Regions from separate parts of the Homo sapiens genome. Here region 1 is linked to region 2. The links are contacts of gene promoters, found by promoter capture Hi-C in blood cells and fetal thymus (Javierre and others, 2016). All regions are on one chromosome and are shown on one strand. The core of a region is centred on a gene start or on the middle of the fragment in contact, and the rest is flanking DNA. Distances in the headings are between cores, read along the strand shown. Region 1 has its middle 150 kb from the start of LINC02780. Region 2 holds the start of CAMTA1-AS1 (CAMTA1 antisense RNA 1).

Evidence for each region. The method cuts DNA at HindIII sites, captures the fragments that hold promoters and counts their contacts. A CHiCAGO score of 5 or more calls a contact.
Region 1: a contact is called between a fragment that was not itself captured here and the fragment with the promoter of CAMTA1-AS1 in region 2, in 1 of 17 cell types (total CD8 T cells). The highest score is 5.2, in total CD8 T cells.

What each region holds. Positions count from the first base shown.
Region 1 is chr1:4,125,255-4,128,631 of GRCh38, forward strand. No RefSeq gene overlaps it. Among named protein-coding and RNA genes, the nearest start is that of LINC02780, 150 kb to the left of the region's middle. The HindIII fragment of the contact is 1,190 bases long and covers 800-1,989 here.
Region 2 is chr1:7,439,605-7,443,062 of GRCh38, forward strand. CAMTA1-AS1 (CAMTA1 antisense RNA 1) reads right to left here and starts at 2,013. Exons shown (of 2, transcript NR_187278.1): 1 at 1,484-2,013; 2 at 963-1,244. The region is part of intron 5 of CAMTA1 (calmodulin binding transcription activator 1); the gene reads left to right. The HindIII fragment of the contact is 2,325 bases long and covers 1,269-3,458 here.

The sequences.
Region 1 (3,377 bases), core at 145-2,644, 3.3 Mb before region 2:
TGGGTGACACTGTGGATGGCCTGAACTCCAGGCTCAGGAATTTGGACCCCTACGTTCTAGTCTCAGAAACCCTTTGTACTTTTAAAAGTTACTGAGGTTCCCACAGAGCTTTGGTGGGTGTGGATTATCTCTATTGATAATTTCTTCTTTACTGACAAAAACTGAGAAACTTACAACTCATGTACTTATTAATTCATTAAAAATAACAATGATAGGCTGGGCGCAGTGGCTCATGCCTGTAATCCCAGCACTTTGGGAGGCCAAGGTGGGCAGATCATGAGGTCAGGAGTTCAAGACCAGCCAGGCCAACATGGTAAAAACCCATCTCTACTAAAAATACAAAAATTAGCTGGGCGTGGTGGCACATGCCTGTAATCCCAGCTACTCGGGAGGCTGAGGCAGGAGAATTGCTTGAAACCGGGAGGTGGAGGTTGCAGTGAGCCAAGATCGCGCCACTGCACTCCAGCCTGGCGACAGAGCGAGACTCTGTCTCAAAAACAAAACAAAACAAAACAAAAAGATGATAATAATAAGCTAATTACAGGTTTACATAAATAACAGATTTCAATAAAAATAATTATAGACCACCCCCCCCCCCCACCACCACCAAATAGTGAGAAGTGAGGCTTTGTTTTACCTTTCAGCAAATCTCTGTAATGTTTGGTTGGAGAGAAGGCAGCTGGATTTGCAAAACTCCTTCTGTATTCAATCTGTTGCAGTATGTTGTTTTGTTTAAAATACATGAAGAAAATATGGCCTCACACAGGTATGTAGTTGGGGAACAGAGGGGTATTTTAAAAGCTTTGTTAGATAATTGCAGATACTGTTCTTTATGCTAAACTGGAAGTCAATAAGCAGGAGTTTTCTAAAGGTTAGTTGCAGTGGGAAATTGGAAAGCCCTGTCAGTAATTTTTCCTTTTTCATTCAAAGAATAGATTTTTAACCCACGTGTAATTTTGAAACATCACACCACGGTCATCTGGAAAATACCGTTCCACTGCGTTTTGCAGATCTTCCAAATGCTAACACATTTCTTCATTCAATATCAAGCATCACATTCAATAATATCAGCACGTTCTTCATCGCAAAAGCCTTTAAGTGCTGGGAAGCTGTCGAGCTCCCGGCGGTGGATACGAGTCTTCCAAAATTCTAATTTCTCCTTGAAAGTCAGAACTCTATTATTGGCAACAAATATTGTCAGTTGTTTTCCTTGAAGTGACAGGCTCACTTTATATATTTTGAGAAAATGTCTGCCAAATACCCATGTCTGAATAACCATAGTTTGTCTCTTAGTTATTCTCTCAAGGAAAAACGGTATTTCATAAAAAGCAGCCAGTTCAGCTCACAGTTGTTTCACAGGGCTCAAGGGTTTTCTCCGAGACAAACATTCTACTTTGGTTTGCACCAGGAGTGTTTTATACATAGTTCCCATTTAATCACACAGAAGATTAAAAAGATTTACATTAAAAAGATGTAAACTCAGGGTTGAGATTTAATAAAAATAATAATTTTTAGTGCTCCCTTGAGGCCAGTGCTGTTGTGGGCTAAGCCTGCCTCACACACGGCATGGCACGTTTATTGCTCACAGTACACACACATGACAGGCTGGCAGGGTCTCTGCTCCACAGGCCACTCAGGGATCCAGGCCGGTGGCAGCTCTTCCAGCTATGGCTTCACTACCTGGGACTAGTGGGCTTCTTGGCTGTTGATATGGTTTGGATATCTGTCCCTGTCCAGATCTCATGTGGAAATGTCATCCTGAGAACTGAAGGTGGCGCCTGGTGGGGGGTGACTGGACCATGGGGGTGGGGCTTTCTCGTGAAGGGTTTAGCACCATCCTCTTGGTGCTGTCCTCATGATAGTGAGTGAGTTCCCGTGACATCTGGTCATTGGAAAGTGTGTGGCGCCTCCCCCAACTCTCTCTCTCTCTTGTTCCTGCTTTCACCACGTGACATGCCTGCTCCCCCTTTGCCTTCCACTGTGACTGGAAGCTTCCAGAGGCCTCCCCAGAAGCTGATGCCGGGGCTATGCTTCCCATACAGCTTGCCGAACCATGACCCAATTAAACCTCCTTTCTTATAAATTACCCAGTCGAAGACATTTCTCTATAGCAATGCAAGAACAGCCTAATGCAGTTGTTCCCTGGGGAAGACAGTGCTGAAGGGCTTTGCATACAGGAGTGAGACATCCCTGCCAGAAGCGGTACGCTTCACGCCAGCTCACAGCCCGTTGGCCAGAACGCGCCACTTGGTCCACCTAATTGTGAGGGCGGCCGGGGCTCCTGGAGGGAGAAGTGCTGGGTGTGAGAGAGCACACTCGTCTCCCCACCCATCCCCCTGAGTTGCTGGCCTCCCGTCCACCAACCTCCTAGTCCTCTCCTCGGGGAAGCCTGCTGCGCGCCATCCCTCCCCATGCTGGCTCGTCTCTCTCTGAGTCATGCTGACTCTAACCGGCCTTTCACCGTTTGTCTCTACTGTTCATCTTTGGGTGGAGTGCGGCTCACTGTGAAGCTTCTCTGCACTCGCTGGATGAACGAAGGAATGAACAGGGAGATTTAGGTTCTTGGTAGCTGGAACCTCCTGTTTCTAGATCCTGCCTTGTTTCTCCCATGCAGCCCTTCAGTGTGGGTTTTCGTAGTGGCCTGGACGTCTTCTCTAGGGAGGGCCCACCGATTGCCGTGGCTCGAGGCCCCCGGAGACCAAAGACCGGGCGTGGAGCAAGAAAAACAGACGATGGAAACCTGCACCTCGTCCCCAGCCCTGCCACTGACAGCGTGTGGCTGTGGAGGCCTCTGTTTGCCCTCTCTGTGAGGGAGGAGCCCGCTGGAAGGCCTCCTGAGCCCGTCTGGTCCCTGCCATGCCATGGGTCTGCCTGGTGAGCCTGCAACGGGGATTTAGTTTTCTGTGTCGGGGGTGAGTTTCCATCAAAATAGCCACATTCTCTCACCAAGACTCCCTCATGGCCCTCGGCTCTGGGAGCCACCTTTGTCTGCGCACTGCCTCCCTCTCTCTTTGTCTCTGTTTCTCTCTCTCTCTCTCTCTGTCTGGCTCTGTCTCTTTCTTGCCCTGTCTCTGCTTCTGTCTGACTCTTTCTCTGCCTCCCTGTCTGTCTGTGTGTCTCCCTCTCTGTGGGTCTCTCTCTGACTCTCCGTCTCTGTCTCTCTTTGTCTATCCCTGTGTCTCTCTTTCTGTCTCTGTGTGTGTATAGACTTATTTGTCTATTTATGATGACATTCCATGGATGCTCCTTCCCCCAGACGGTGCGAGGCGTGAGGCACCTGGGCTGCAAGGCCTGTATTAGAACAAGGTCTCTGTGCTGCTCAGGTGAAAACCTCTGGAAGAGCGGATGCTTCTGGGAAGGCCCCGTAAGAAGCCGAG
Region 2 (3,458 bases), core at 763-3,262:
TACGGCCACCGTCCTACATAGGTCCTGGGATCCAGCCTCCAGAGTGCAGGCCCATAGGCCAGACACCACCTGGGCAGCTTCTCATTCAGGACTGCCCCACTGTGATGATGGGGAGGAACGGAAGTGTGCAGGCCTCTAGGGTGCAGGTCTCTGAGCTCCCCAGGTGCAGATGAAGGGGTGAAGGGAGGGAGAGTGCCGAGCCCAGCCTCCCAGGAGGCAAAGCCTGGGTATCTGAGGCTGTCCAAGGTGCGGAGTGTCGGAGTCACGTGAGCTGCATCTCCAACCTTGGCTTCCTCATTTGCAAAATGAAGAGGCCCCAGTGAGCTCGGAGATCCCTTCACAGAATCATCGCTAGAATTCCGTGAGGCTTTGTTGAGGCCCAGCAGGCCTGTCTCAGTGGCAAGGGAGGCAGGTGGCTCCTGGAACGCAGGCAGCACTGGGCGGGTACCCGCACTGGGCATCCCATGTGCCCCACATCTCTGGCACATTAGCCCATGGCTCAGGTGGCACTGGCCCCGTGGCATAGGCGAGAGGGCAGGCTAGGGACTGCTCCTACCAGTGTGTCTTGGGCTCTGTGCCCACTACCTGGTGGGGAGAGGTGTCCACTTTGTCCACTTCATGGCATGGGAGCCGATGCGGCTTCAATCCTGACTCCGCAGCTGCCTCCTGACCAGTCAGCAATCGGGAGCCCCGACCTCTTCCCTCTCCATCCTCACTGCAGCCTGGGCAGGCCGGAGGCCAATGTCCCCAGGGCAGAGCTGGGACAGTCCCAGTGGGAAGGAGGCCTGGCCGGGCCAGACAGCAGCCTGGGAAGGAGCCGTGTGTTGCCTGGGAGTTCCACGGCACCGGCTGAACCTGCATCTTGAAGGTTTGATTGATTGCGTCGTTCAGAGTGAATATATTTTTTAATAATCGGTTTCCAAAATTAGTCTTTCTCTGTGTAGCAGCTATCACAAACAGCATGAGACGCACTCCTTTTATTTTTTTTTTACCTGCCAGAGGCAGATATTTGTTTTTCCTTCAAGAGAGCAGCAGGTGAAGGTGTGGTCCCCGGATCCCAGCACCTGGAAGCTGCGGTCTGGTCCTGCCTGCTTGGAGCCTGTGGGCCGAGAAAGACAGGGGCAGAGGCAGCCTGACCAAACCTCCTCTTGCTCCCACTCTCCGTGGCTTGCGGGCCAAGCGACATCAGCTCTGCACCCCTCGGTTTCCTTAGCCGATGGCGATGGTTTGATTACTTCATCACACTGTTTTGGGATTAAGACAGGACAAGCTTAGTGCACACATTATAGCTGCTCAGTGCCCATTCAGTAACTGGTAGCTTGGTCCTCCTACCTCGTGCCCTTGCGGTAGCTCTGGGAAGCCAACTCTGTCTCCATTTGACTGGTCCTACAGGTGCGGGTTTTAAACCCTACGTCACCCACATCTCCTTTTGGACATCACAAAACTCCTGAGGTGCCCAGCCCACTTACCCCCAAGTGCTCACCTTCTGTGAGCTCCTGAGCTTCTTCACCAGCTGAGATTTTTCCTTGTGGAGTTTTCTACTTCTGTTGTTTGTAATTCAAACTAATAAGTTCTTCCTGCATTTGAAAAATGAAAACATGGTGTAATATTGAATGTTGCTGTTCAAACTGCTCCCCACACCCAGCATTTTGCAATGTCCCCCAGGGGCACACACCCTTGATGCTTGACTGAAAAACTACCATACCAGTGACTGTCTGTATCTCATTGGCCTGAGAAATTAAAAGCTGCTACTGTGTTACATTAAGTGTCTGCTGTACGCACCGCCCTGGGCTGGGCCAGTCCTGGGGGATAAAGAACAGTATCAGAAAGATACTCAGACAGAGCTGTCTCTGTGGTGGAGGAGATGAGAGCTAAGAGAAGTGAAAATGCAGAGCCGAGGCCAGGCCATCCCGCAGTGTCCACTGGTGCAGGGGTGGGCTGCGGGTCGCGAGCCACGGGAGCTTGCAAAAGGGAAGGGCATGGCTTGAAGTCAGCTTCCCGGAAGAGGAAGAGGCGGTCCTTGGCTGATGGCAGAATTTGCATGGGCTGATAGGAAGGGACGGCTTCAAGGTTGAGTTGGCTAACAACTCGAGCCAAGGCCCAGAGGTGGGGATGAGTTTGCTGCCAAAGGGGACGGCTGGCAGGAAGCTACTCAGTGTGCTTGTTCGTCTCGCTCATTAATTGGGCACAAAGAGCAGCAAATCCCATCCCCATCCCGAGGCCCTGCAGCATGGTAGGATCATGCCCACTTCTCCCTGCTCTTAGACCAACGTGGGTTCTGCCTCCCCTGCCCAAAGCGTAGGCGCAGACTCTGGGTGGAATCAAGGTGCAAAGGAGGCCTCGATTCCGGCGGTTTCAGAGGGCTGCTCCCTGCGTAAGTCATCCACCCATCCTCTTGTTACCCCACCTCTGGCTTCTGGGGGCCCCAGGACTTCCCCAGCGCTGTCCTCAGCCCTGAAACCTCCATGGGGTTTCCATGGAGAAGTGCTGACAATTTTGTTTCTACTCTCCCAGTTCTTCCTGAAATTCATCTGCATCAAAGTGAGATCCCTTATGCTCAGCGCTCAGCAAGGCTGTGGTGATTAAGCACTTAAATTGATTAATCAAATTTCCTGTGATGAGAACTACTGTCATTCATTAATCTGAGCGGGATTATAAATAAGAGATGGCAGATACAGGAGACAACCGTGTTGACAGATGGACACGGTGGCCTGAATCACAAGTAGGTGCCTGCTTCCTGGGGGCTTTCGCTGTGGGCAGCTGGGGACGGAGCTTCCCTAAAGACAAAATTATTCGGAGATTGAAGTATCCCCATTTTAATAACGAAATATGCATAGATGAGCAGGCAGCCGGTACAGGGAGCACGTAGGTTCGCATACCAATGGCCCGGTTGTATTCATGGAGGTGGTAGCAGCAGCTCCAAGAGATAAAGAATCTGCTAGAAAAAGAGGCCAAAGCAAAGTGGCACACGGGTTGAGAATATGGGTTTGAGGGTCAGAGCAGCCCTGGGTGCAAATCCTGCCTCCATGGTTTACTCAACGCGTGACTTGGCTGAGGTTCTCAATCTCCCAGAGCCTCCATTCCCTCACTGGCAAAATGCGGATGCTGATAATCCTGATTCCACTGGGTTGTTGTTAAGAGTAAATGAGACAATATCTATGAGGCACTTTTTATCTAGTTTACAAACATTTATTGAGCACCTACTGTATGTCAGTACTGTGCTGGTATTTAGAGATTGGCAAGGAATAAAGCAAGCATGGTCCCTGCCCCCAGAGCTGGTGTTCTTATGGAGAAGGCAGACACTGAGACTCAAGGGCTATGACACAGTGCTACTGCCCTGGCCTTCCCAGATGCCACATTCTCTGTTGACCTCCTGGACTCAGGATGTCCTTTCCATCCCTGTCTTTGAACACTTCTTCCTGCCTGTGGTCTCTCCTTGCCCCTGCGCAGATCCTCCT